Linked DNA regions of Homo sapiens: region 1 is linked to region 2. Evidence: promoter capture Hi-C in 16 types of primary human blood cells and fetal thymus (Javierre and others, 2016). All regions are on one chromosome and are shown on one strand. Each heading gives the region's core, a stretch centred on a gene start or on the middle of the fragment in contact. The rest is flanking DNA. Distances are from core to core; before and after follow the strand shown. Region 1 has its middle 35 kb from the start of PLXDC2. Region 2 holds the start of MALRD1-AS1 (MALRD1 antisense RNA 1).

What was found. The method cuts DNA at HindIII sites, captures the fragments that hold promoters and counts their contacts. A CHiCAGO score of 5 or more calls a contact.
Region 1: a contact is called between a fragment that was not itself captured here and the fragment with the promoter of MALRD1-AS1 in region 2, in 1 of 17 cell types (megakaryocytes). The highest score is 6.7, in megakaryocytes.

Annotation. Positions count from the first base shown.
Region 1 is chr10:19,778,779-19,785,063 of GRCh38, reverse strand. No RefSeq gene overlaps it. Among named protein-coding and RNA genes, the nearest start is that of PLXDC2, 35 kb to the left of the region's middle. The HindIII fragment of the contact is 1,544 bases long and covers 2,325-3,868 here.
Region 2 is chr10:19,723,869-19,730,976 of GRCh38, reverse strand. MALRD1-AS1 (MALRD1 antisense RNA 1) reads left to right here and starts at 2,427. Exons shown (of 5, transcript NR_120646.1): 1 at 2,427-2,572. MALRD1 (MAM and LDL receptor class A domain containing 1) reads right to left here. Exons shown (of 40, transcript NM_001142308.3): 39 at 196-271. RefSeq lists a silencer at 6,350-6,550. The HindIII fragment of the contact is 5,040 bases long and covers 1,855-6,894 here.

The DNA.
Region 1 (6,285 bases), core at 1,847-4,346, 53 kb before region 2:
TTTTTTCTTGTTTTGAGAAGAAATGCCATTGGTAGTCTGATGGGAGTAGCATTGAATCTCTTCATTCCCTTGGACAATATGGCCATTTTTAACATTATTGATTCTTCCTACCCATGAGCATTTGTTTGTGTCATCTCTGTTTTCTTTGAGCAGTGTTGTATATTTTTCATTTTAGGGATGTTTCACTTCCCTGGTTAGCTGTATTCCTAGGTATTTTATTCTTTTTGTAGCAACTGTGAATGAGATTTCATTCCTGATTTGCCTCTGGGCTTGGATGTTGGTGTATTGGAATTTTATTGATTTTTGTACATTGATTTTGTATTCTGAAACTTTGCTGAAGTTGTTTATCAGCTAAAGGAGCTTTTAGACAGATACTATGGGGTTTTCCAGATATAGAATTAGGTCCTCTGCAAACACAGATAGTTTGTCTTCCTCTTTTCCCATTTGGATGCCTATCAAAGTAATTTTAAATAGCACCATAACATTTATAGACTTTGTCACACTATACATAATATTTATCTTGGTTCTTTTCAATAAACAGCTTACTAAACATCTTTCAATGTCATGAGGCATTTATTTTTTAAGATAAACTAAGGCTATTAAATGTTTCTTTTTAACTTCAGTTATACCGTATCTCTAGTGTTCTTTGGAAGTCTTAAAGTTTTTCAGCTTTGATTTCTGAATGGTGCCTTTCCCTGAGGATGTTATCCTGTAGAAAAGGCAGATTAATCCAGCATATATCAAATAAGCTGCTCATTTTCCCTGAAGTAAGCTGAACAGCATTGCGGAGTCAGACCAAGTGCTGGAAAATACCTTCCTAGTATCTAGACAGCAATTGCAGGCATACTTGGGAACTTGCTTCAGAGAGTGGTGTTTTTCTTTGTTATTTGTTTTTATGTTTTTTTTTTTAATTCTTTTCTTATTTTTATGTTAGATTTGCTTTTAGGGTAAATAATGACAAAACATGAAATAAGATGGAGAAATATTTGCTGTAAGATCAAGCAACAATTTGAATTTTTGCTTTTGCTGAGATAATTTTTGGCATCTTCATCAGGAAATCTTTGCTTATTCCTATGTACTGAATGGTATCGCCTTGAATACCTGAATGGTATTAACATTCCAATACCTGAATGGAATTGTTATGTTACTTTACATAACAGCTGCACAAGGGACGCTCACTAGCACAAGAACGGCAAGGAGGAAATCCACCTCCATGATCCAGTCACCTCCCACCAGGCCCCTCCTCCAATTCCACAGGAGATTTGGGCAGGGACACAAATCCAAACCATATTGTGTGGCTAAATGAAATTATCCGTAACACCTGCCATCACAGTCTTAATAAGTGGTACAAGAATAGTCTCAGAACTCTTTGTTTCAATTGGCCATTTAAGTTTAATAGTAAAAAACTGGGTAATGATAACAACGCACCATAAAACCTTTAGAAGAAAAGAAGAATGTTTTGTGGACTATTTTGGCCTTTTCTGCATGGGGCAGTTTTAAGTTATTAGCTTTTAAAGTGAGTAATTTTTAATGGAAACAACTTGATCAAAAATCTGCCACAGAATTTTGAGACCCATTATAACAACATTTAATGAGAAAAAATTATATAGTAATCACTCACGTTTAACTTATGTACCTTTTCTAGAACTTAAAAAGTCTGGATTAGAATATAGATAGCTATGTTTATTTCTTAGCTCTCATTTCAGAATCACAAGTTCCTCGAAGTTATAATGTGGGTTGATTTGTTTGTTACCTGATGTTCCTACACTATATATTAAGTATTCTAGGTGCTGCTGCAAAATATTAGTTGACATTACTAATTAATTAACTTCAGACTTAAAAATTATACACGGCAAATTATTTAACGTAGTCACTAAATTAAACCTTTTTAACATTCAAGAGCAATCCATGTTTGCTAAAGAATATTGAGAATATTTAGAATAGAGTATAAGCCATAATAAGAAATCAAAATTGTTCATAGGTTCACAAATAAGAGATGCATTTGTTCATTCAACATTGTTCACCACCACAAGGGTTTAGGCTGGTCCCTTTGGGTACAGAGCTCAGACAAGCCCTACATTCACAATGCCTACGTTCCCATGGTGGGAGACAAACTGCAAACAAAATGAGCAAACAAAACCATAAAACTTGGAAGCAGTATGTTCTGGGGCAAAGATCACGAAGTGGGAAAGAATTTGATGTATGTGAAGCTTTTGTAGCTGAAGCAGAGGATGAGAATGGAATGAACATGTAGATGTTCACGAGGGCCAGTGTTAGGAAGTTGAATTTTTACTGTTAAGTACAAAAGGAAGCCATTGAAAGCTTTTAGATAGGGAACTAATGTCGCGTTATTGGAAGGAAATAAACCCCCCAAACAGGAAGGCAAAACCAAACCAAACCACACTGATTGCTATAAGGATGGTGGGGGAGCAAAACTGGATCAAAAGAGCTCCAACAGGAAGCAGCTGCAATAGTGCGTCTATCTAAGAGATGATGTGGCTTATGTTAAGGGGATAGCAGAGGAGGAGAGAAGATGATACAGTCAAGATGTATTTGGGAAATAGAACTAAGAAGACTTGCTGATAGACTGGAAGGGGGTAGGAGGAGAGAAGAATGATCCTGGGATATTTTACTGGAACACAAAGTGGACAAGAGTTCTGTTTCCTGAGATGGCAAGGGCTGACGGAGAGTTAGTGTGGCAGAGACCTGTGCTTTTCATGCATTACCAATACTCCCTTTCTTTCTTGGTGTCAGAATTCAGATTTTATTAAGGATGGGAATGGATCCAGCCAAAATCCATTGCTGCCTTCCCTTTCTTGAAGCTAGGTATGTGGCCTTCAGCTGGGTTATGGACAATGAGATACACATACTCAGAAGTATCATGTGAGATTTCTATAAAGGTGTTTGAGACTACATGATGTGACCCTTTTGTATTAAAGCTAAGCATACGTTCATCTGAAAACGTAGCACTTCTTTTCTTAGATAAATATCTAGCAAAAAATGCATACATATGTTTACCACAAGGCAAGTCCAAGAATATTTAAAACAGCACTCTTTCTATAACTTCAAATTAGAAACAGGCCAAAATGCCCATGAACAAATAGAATGGATAAGTAATTTTTGGCATATTCATTCACAATGAAAACTGCTGCAAAATGCCACAAGATGAATGAATTTCACAAATATAATGTTAAACAAAAAGCAAGATACAAAAGAATACATATTATTTCATTTACAAAGGACAGTAACTAACATATGATGTAGGAAGTCAAAGAGTAGATAGCAATGGGAAGGCGGTGGGGTTGATGATTGGGAGAAGCCATTGGGGGAGGTTTTAGGGGTACTGGTGATGGTCCATGTTTTTATATGAGTGCTGTTTTCATAAGTCGTCATTCACTTGGCAGAGTGTCAAATATAATAGGCATTCATTAAAGACATGTGTTGAATAAACTTGTTGAATTTAAGGTGAGAAGGAGTTTTACCAGTGAGAAAATAGCTGTTGTATTATTGCAGTACTCCATAATAATTTATACTCCTACTGAAACAAAAATAACAAACGTGGTTAGGTTGTGCTTCACATATTCTTTTTAAAGCAAGAAAATATTTGTCAACCATATATATTTTCCACATTTTGAATATTTAAATTTGCAAATTCCTAATTTCTGGAAAATTTCTTATTCAGATTATTTCTTCCCTGATTATTCTAGATTAATGAGGTAGTGGGGGTGAAAACATGTACATTGGTCACTAAATGTGTTTCTTGTGGTAATATCCAAGACAAAATGGTTTTCATTAAATTTCAGAAATGCAATGTTAAAGTTAACTCTAGAAGTTTTAGAAAGTGCCAGGAGAGAAAAATAGGAAAGCTTAAAAATGTCCCTAAAATGATAAGGCTTTCAACTCCACACTAATAGATTCTGAAGAATAAATTGGAATGCTTGGGAACTGTTACATGACAAATGAGAGTACAAATATTTTCTTTTTCTAAATGTGCTAAGAAAAACAAACAAACAGAAAGATAAATACTTCCTGAAGAACAACTAAGCCATAGAAATTCAGAACATTTCAAATTTATGAGATATTAAAGCCAGGAAGTATTGCACATGAAATAAATTCTAATAATCTTAGAAAAAAATTATAATAATCTTTTGTCTCCATGGTAAAGGAAGGTGATGGATTTCAAAGGGAAAGGAAAAAAAAAAAAACACATTTGCACTTTCATGTTCTTCTTTCCTATAACTAAATTTCAGATTTTCTACTTGCAGAAATGGAGTGAATTCCCTTTTGTATTATAAGGTTAAGGAAGAAGGAAATCATTTGAACTCTCGATTATACTTTGAAGTGGACTCTGATTGTAATAATACTTTATAAACATTCAAACATCCCCAAAAGGCTATTAATAAATAGTTATCTTAGATTTAACAACAAACAAGAACCCCCTAATGTTTCCTAACTACAGATTACATTTCCAGTTCCATTTAGCCAGCCCCGCAAGGGTGCTCCTATTTAGAGGAACCAGGGGAGAGAGCAAATAATTTAATTCAGTGCAACCCATTCAACTCATTGAAAAACTACTCAAAGCATGGGACTTACCAATGGGTATCTATAGTGTCATTGATTGTTTGTTATTATTACTATGGAATGTACATTATGAGAGGCCACTGGAACTCATAGTTCAGAATACAAATTCTAGAGGCAGATAGAGTTTGAATGCTGCCTTCACCACTTTTAAGCTGTGAATTTGGGTAAATTGCTCAACTACTGAGGGCCTCAAAGTCATTAACTGAGAAATGGGAATAACAGAGTCATATGTCACTTCTTGATGGGAATACATTCTGAGATATGCATCGATAGGTGATTTCGTTGTTGACAAACATCCTTGGGTGTACTTACACAAACCTAGATGGTAGAGCCTCCTACACATCCAGGTTATATGGAATGAATAGTCTGTTGCTCCTAGGCTACAATATCGCACAGCATGTTATTGGACCGAATGCTATACGCAATTGTAACACAATGAAAGTATTCATGTGTCTGAACATAGGAAAGGTACAGTAAAAGTATAGTATATAAGAAATAGTACACCTATATAGGGCAGTGACCATGAAAGGAGGTTGCGGAATTGGAAGTTGCACTGGGTGAGTCCATGAGTGGGTGGTGAGCAATGGCCTAAGACATTAATGTACACTACTGTAGCCCTTATAAACACTGTATACCCAGACTACGTTATTCAAAAATATTTTTCTTTCCTCATTAATAAATTAACCTTAGCTCACTGTAATGATTTACTATATAAATGTTTGATTTCTAAATTTTTGTCTCCTTTGCAATAACACTTAGCTTTAAAACACAAATACATTGTACGACTGTCCAAAAATGTTTTCTTTTATTATATCCTTATTCTACAAGCTTTTTTTTTCTTTTTAAAATTTTTCATTTTTAAATTTTTTACTTTTGAATTGCTTTTGTTGAAAATTAAGACACAAACACACATATTGATCTAGGCCAATACAGGGTCAGAATCACCAATTTCACTGTCTTCCACCTCCACATCCTGTCCCACCTGGAAGGTCCTTGGGGGTAATAATATGTATAGAAGTGTCATCTCCTGCATAAACAGTGCCTTCTCCTGGAATACTCCCTGAAATATATGCCTGAGGCTGTTTTATAGTTAACGTTTTTTAAGTAGAAAGAGTACACTCTATAATAATAATAAATAGTATGGTAAATGCATAAACCAGTAATAACATTGTTTGTTATCACTAGCAAGTATTATGTATTATACATAGATATGCTATATGTGCTGTATTTTTACATTACTGTCAGCACAATAGGCTTGTTTACACCAGCATCACCACAAACATGTGAGTAATGTGTTTCACAATGACATTAGGATAGCTACAGTGTCCCTAAGCCATAGGAAGTTTTCAGCTGCATTATAATATTATGAGACCACTTTTATTTATGCAGTCTGTCTTCCACCAAAACATTGATGGGAAGCACATGACTGTCTATTTACCTCATGGAACTACGAAGATTAATGAGTTACATGTAAAACATGTGCTTATTATCTAGCACCTAGTAAGTTCTAACAAATGTTAATTATCATCATTGTCACTTTTCTTGCTATTAGTCTGTAACCCAGAGAATAGGAAAGGTCAGAGACTTACAAACTTTGTCCTAAGAAAGAGGGATGCACGAGTCATAATTACATTGATCCAAGTAATCACAGCATCCCCTAGGGCTGCTGTGGGAGCAGAGCGTGGAAGAAAGAATCAGTCGCCA
Region 2 (7,108 bases), core at 1,178-3,677:
ATGGACAATTCTCACAGCATATTTATAGAGATGGAAACTCCTTTCTATCCCCAATTGAAATAACTCCACTAAAACATTTCTTTTAGTTATGATGTAGAAACATGATCAAGCAACACTGGTTCAGCCTGTGTGTGTGTGTGTGTTTGTATGTGTGTGCATATGTGTGAAAAGATATAGTTCACCCTTGCCACTTACCTCTGTTTTCTCTGGGTTGCTCCAGTTCCCGTAAACTGGATTGACAAAGGCACAGTTACCACTTCCCTCGGTTTTCCTTAAAGCACACAGGGCCATCAAAAATAAAAAACTATTGACATTTACCATAGTACATTTTCAGGTTATTGTTTGTTAGAAACTTTTGAGAGACATGTTGTCTAGCCAGCACACTTATTTTCATGAATGTATTACCATAAGTAAAGTTTGTTTTTTATTTTTTATTTTTTGCAGGACACCAAGGCAACCACATTCAGGAAAGCAAATGTAATTTGAACTCTGAGTGTTTAGATCCAAATAAACTCAGGCAAATAAAAGAAATTGCAAAAGTTAGTCTTAATGTTGATTTCTTAAAATATTACTCAGTGCAAAGTGTCCAACATTAGAAAGAACAATGTAATATGAAGCTGTACTAGTGATAAAGAAAGGCCATCTTGAAGTCCTTTACACTGCACAGTGCCAAACCACTACATCCTGAAGACTGTTTTCCATGACAGTATCTGTCATAAAGATCTGTAGCACATGAGTCATAGTCTTTAACATTTTAATCAGCAAATTTAAATACAACTGTTTTGAAAAGTTCTTTAGGGTAGTGTTTCATGAAACTCAAAAACAGCAAGCCCTTGGTAATATCACATATTGGACTACATGTGCATAATTCACTATAATTAACTGGGCTCCATATGATTATTTTCCTTTTATACTTTACTTAAGAATTAATAGACTTATAGGCCGGGCGTGGTGGCTCACGCCTGTAATCCCAGCACTTCGGGAGGCCGAGGCGGGCGGATCACGAGGTCAGGAGATCGAGACCATCCTGGCTAACACGGTGAAACCCCGTCTCTACTGAAAATACAAAAAAATTAGCCGGGCGTGGTGGCGGGCGCCTGTAGTCCCAGCTACTTGGGAGGCTGAGGCAGGAGAATGGCGTGAACCCGGGAGGCGGAGCTTGCAGTGAGCCGAGATCGCGCCACTGCACTCCAGCCTGGGCCACAGAGCGAGACTCCGTCTCAAAAAAAAAAAAAAAAAAAAAAAAAAAAAAAAAGAATTAATAGACTTATTAGAAGACACGCAGCCCTGGACTACTTGGTGACAACTGATGAAGAAAAAATGTCCATCGTAGGAACAAAAAAAAGTAACCAAGAACTAAATACACACACACACACACACACACGAAAGGATCCTATACACACATGTGTACACACACACACACATAAGAAAGGATCCTATACATGCATGTGTACACACACACACACACACAATGGAGAATGGAAGACCAATTCCAGGATGATTGTTTTAAGAGCTTAATGACACGAGTAACAAATATATAATGTATGATAATTGTATAACACAATGTATAATGTATGTATAATGTATATTTTTTGCCTATTCAGGATACAGTGAAAATTAATGTTTGTCAGTAATATAATTCTAAATCCCAAAATAAAATGTAGCAAGAAGGGGGCTCTTACTGATTTGATTTCTGAAAACAAATTGCCATAGGCATAACTGCCTATTGTCATCTACCAAACCACATGGTCCTTTTCAAAGAAACTGCAGCATCAGTGAGCCTAACAGTCTAATCTAGCTAATTATGTTTGGCTGGCAATACATTGTCCCTGTGGATTCAGTGTCTTTTAAGCTTCCTGATCTCCACTGGCTTAAATATACAATAGATTAAATGTTTCACCCTCACCGCGGGTACATTTTGCTTATTGATGAATAGGGCCATATGCATCTATTTTGTGGGTTATTATTGAAAAAAGTCTGAATTGAGTCAACAAATATCTGTTAATTCCTTAAGCACTAATTGAATGCTTATTAGTTGCTCTGATTAATTTGAGTAAGTTGTGTTTGACTCTTTGCCTTTACTTTATTCAAGACTAGTCTATGTTAAATTCTCGGAGTAGTAATCTCAGTACATAGCATGGTTAGTGCATGAACTGAGCCAGGGATGATCTTGGAGTTGAGATTGGGTAGGGAGTGAAGTGTAGTTTTGAAATGCATCAAAATACCAAAGCAGGAAAAATTGGACATGGAAGTAGGGATGATCAAAACATAATAGAAATTAGGAACTAAGTAAAGATAAGACAGACACTGACACCAAGAGCTCAGAAAAATTAAGAGGCTGAAATCAGGCATGAAATCAGGAAGCAGGAGGAAACCCAAACCACAGGGCTAGACAGGACAGATGGTCAAAGCCTGAGCATACAACCAGGAGCTGAAGGGACCAGCTTGGCCGTCAGTTGCAAGGGTGTGAGGCAGAAGCAACACAAAAGATCTTGATATGAAGCAATTATTTTTGGTCTTAAACTGCTGGGACTCCAGATGACCCAGACCACGGTCAGCAGGCAGAAGCCAGGTAAATTTATATAATTCTCAGCTCTGTTAATTCAATTATTGAAGCTACTTGTCTTCTGAAAGGGTTTTAAGTCTGAAATAATTTTCTATTAAAATGAAAAAACATTTGAAGGTGTCTGGCCTTCAAGATTTGGGTAACTACAAAGAAGGAAGATGATATTTAAGAGTAAGGATGTGGAGTTGTAATAAAAGAAGAAAGGGTTTCAGTGTGAGTATTGGAAGGTGAGGAATGGCAAATCCTTCCTACTTCAACTTTTGTTTTTTAGTAGTCTCAAATTGCTTTTATTTTTCCTAGATTAAAGATATATCTCCCATTCTTGAAAATCCCTGGACTATTAGACTTAAATTTTAATGTCTTTCCTATTTATTTATAAGGTAAACTATTACACCGTCCACAGATTCTTCCATGAAGGAAATTGCTAGTGTCACTCTATACATTTAGTATTTCAAGTTCAATATTATGATTTTCCATTTTCATCAACTATGTCAATTTGACATTCAAACACAGGCAATTTTACTTAAAATGGTGGATCCTTACATGAGGGAAATAAAATGTTTGTTTCATTATAAAGTTTCCTGCCAGTTCTGAAACTCAATGGTGTAATGATGAGTCTTCATCAGGCCAAAAAAAAAAAAATGCAATGTTTGACTTACTGTATTTGTCAATATGCCGGTAGCTCTTAAGCAGTTGATTTTTTTTCCCCCAATGAATAAGTGAGTTGTAAGAATTGAGGTTCTAAAGAATATAACCACCTCTAGGAATAATGATGATAAAGGAACTGACTTAGAAATTTTGAGTAGAGGAAAGGAAGTTGCATGGATCATATAAGTTTTTCTCCCTTATCATGCATTCATATAAATTATTATTAAGTTTATCTTATATCCATTACGTGCAGATACTGTGCGAAGTGGCATTCTGAATGTGTGACAAGAGACCTAGATCAATGCAGAACTAAGATAATTCTGATGGCAGTTTCCAATTTTAATTTAGCGAGCATATTTATACTTCTAATGGAATTCACTTATTAACTGACAACATTGTTTTAGTGTTGATAAAAGCATGGAAGTGTTTATAATAGTCTGAAACTATTACAAATGGGAAAGGAGAAAAAAAGAATAAAACAAAAACCAATCTATGTTACATCCAGTAAACATGACTTCGAGGTGAATATTTTGTATTTTTATTTTTAACAGCTTTATGGAGCTATAAATCACATGCCATACAATTCACAAACTTAAAGTACACAATTCAATGGTTTTCAGTAATGTTACTTTTATTAATTTTTAATTTTTAAAACAGTGGTATATATCACATAAAATTTGCCATTTTAACCATTTCAAGTATACAATTCAATGCCATTAATTCCACTCACAGTGTTGTGCTACCATTACCACTATTTCCAAAATGTTTTTATAACTCTGAACTGAAGCTCCATGGCCAGTGAGCATTAACACCCCATTCCCCTCCAACCAATCCCAGGTAAATTCTGATTTACCTTCTGTCTTTATGAGACTCGAGGTACCTCACCTAAGTGGAATCATACAGTATTTGTCCTTTTGTGTTTGGCTTATTTCACTTAGCATAATGTTTTCAAGATTCATCCATATTGTAGTATGTATCAGAAGTTTAATCATTTTTATTGCTGAATAATATTCCCTTGCATGTATATGTCACATTTTGTTTATTCATTCACCTGTTGATGGAAATTTGGGTAGTTTCCATCTTTTCACTATTGTGAATACTGCTATGGGGAACATTGCTGCATGAATATCTGTTTAAGTCTCTATTTTGATTCTTCGAGGTATATAACTAGGAGTTGAATTGATAGAACACACGGTAACTCTTTTTTAACTTTTGAGGAACTGCCAAACTGTTTTTGATAGTGCTGCACCATCTTACATTCCCACCAACAATGTGTGAGGGTTTCTATTTCTCCTCATCCTCATCAACACTTGTTATTTTCAGTTTTTAAATTATTATTATTATTGCTATCTCAGTGGATGTGAATTGGTATGTAATTGTGGTACTGATTTTCATTTCCCTAATGACTAGTGATGTTGAACATCTTTTTATGTTCAACTATATGTAATCTTCTTTGAAGAAATGACTATTCTAGTCCTTTGCCCATTTTGAAATTGGGTTGTCTTTTTGTTCTTAAGTTGTATGGATTTTTATATATTCTGGATATTAAACTTTTATCAGATACGTACTTTTGAATATTTTCTACCATTTTGTAGATTGTCTTTTCACTTTCTTGATAATGTCTTTTGTTGCACAAAAGTTTTTGATTTTGATAAAGTCCAATTTACTTATTTATTTTTTGTTGTTGCTTGTGCTTTTGGTGTCATATTTAAGAAAGAATCAATTTCCAAATCCAAGATCATGAAGATTTACCACTATGTTTTCTTTTAAATGCATTATGGCTTTTGCTCTTACATGTAGCTCCTTGATCCATTTTGAGCTAATTTCTGTATGTGGTGTGAAGTAGGGGGTCCATCTGCATTCTTTTGCATTGCAAAATCCAGTTGTCCCAATATCATCTACTGAAGAGACTATTTGATCCCCATTGGATGGACTTGGCATTGTTGTCAAGCATCAATTCATGACAGATGTATAGGATTATATTTGAATTTTCAATTCAGTTCAATTCAATTGATCTATATGTCTGTTCTCATGCCTCATGCCGATACCACACTGTTTTGTTTACTGTACTTTTGTAGTAAATTCTGAAATTTGGAAGTTTGAGTTCTCCAACATTGTTTTGGCTATTTGGTACCCTTGCAATTTATAAATTTGAGAAGAGGTTTTTCACTTTTGCAAAAATGGCTGTTGGAATTTTCGATAGAGATTGCCTTGAATCTGCAGGTTGCTGTATTAGTCTGTTCTCATGCTGCTGTGAAGAAATACCTGAGCCTGGGTAATTTATAAAGGAAAGAGGTTTAATTGACTCACAGTTCCACAGGCCTGGGGAGGCCTCAGGTAACTTACAATCATGGCAGAAGGGGAAGCAAATATGCCCTTCTTCACACAGTGGCAGCCAGAAGTGCAGAGCAAAAGCCGGAAAAGCCCCGTCTAAAGCCATCAGACCTTGTGAGAACTTACTCACTATCCTGAGAATAGCAGCATGAGGGTAACCACCCCCATGCTTAGATTACCTCCCACTAGGTCCCTCCCACGGCTTGTGGGGATTATGGAAACTAGAATTCAAGATGAGATTTGGGTGGGGACATGGAGCCAAACCATATGAGTTGCTTTAGTTAGTATTAACGTCTCGACAATATTGTCCTCCTTTCCATGAACTTAGTGTGTCATTCCATTTAGTTAGGTCTTATTTAATTTCTTTCAATAATGCTTTGTGATTTTAAGTGTATAAATCTTTCACCTCATTGGTTAAATTTATTCCCAGGTATTTTATTCTTTTAGATGCTATTGTCAACAGAATTGCCTTCAAGATTCCTTTTCTGATTGTTCATTGCTGGTATGTAGTAATACAACTGATTTTTAAGTGTTGCTCTTATACCTTGTAACTTCTCTGAATTTGTTTATTTGCTCTAGTAGCTTTCTTGTGGATTCTTTGAGATTGCTTATATATAGTATCATGCCATTTATGAATACTGAAGTTTATGTCTTCTTTTCCAATTTGAATGCGTTTTACTTCCTTTTTTCCCATTTCCTCTGGCAAAAGTTTATTTTTGATAACTACATTTATCCCTAGCTTAGTGGGGCTATAAAACTTCCTTAATGTAAACAATTTAAAGCTAGTGTATAGGAAAATTATGATGGCAATGTTGGACAGTTTCAGGGTGTAGTCTCATTGCCACTTAAAGTGAACATCTTTGGACTAGATAAGTGAATAAACCTTTATCTGGGTTGAAAGGAAACAAAGGTGACAGTGAGACTAGCTGTCACTCCGAATGCTGAAGTGTCTAGGACAGAGTGACAGCACAATGTTCCTGCTGAGAGGCCTGTCCTTCAAAATGAACATCTTTTTACACACATTGCAAGTTTGTTAATTTTTAAAATACACTTTTATAATTTGTTTCAGTGAGTGTTTTCTATTAACTTTATTTACTAAATTGATTGCCATTTTTGGTGATAAATGGGTGATTTAATTTCTTTATGTTAACTACAGATGTGTGCTTCCCCCTCCCGCCAATTTACCAGTAAGTCACTTGGTGTGTCTGTAAAACTGCTCAGGCTGCTTAGTGAAACTCACCGGACACCTAGTTTCCATTACCATCTCATGGGAGTAACACTGTTACAATAGTTCATATTTAAAATTAGGTTTAGAAAATATTCAAAGAAAAATGAGCTCAAAAGCTTAAATTTTTTTATTTTTTATTTTTAGAGACAGAGTCTCACTCTGTTGTCCAGGCTTGTATACAGTGGTGTGATCATAGCTCACTGCAGCCTTGAACTCCTGGGCCCAAGCGATCCTCCTGCCTCAGCCCCCTGAGTTGCTGGGACTATAGGTGCATGCCAACACACCTGGCTAATTTTAAAACTGCTCAAGCTGCTTAGTGAAATTCACCAAAC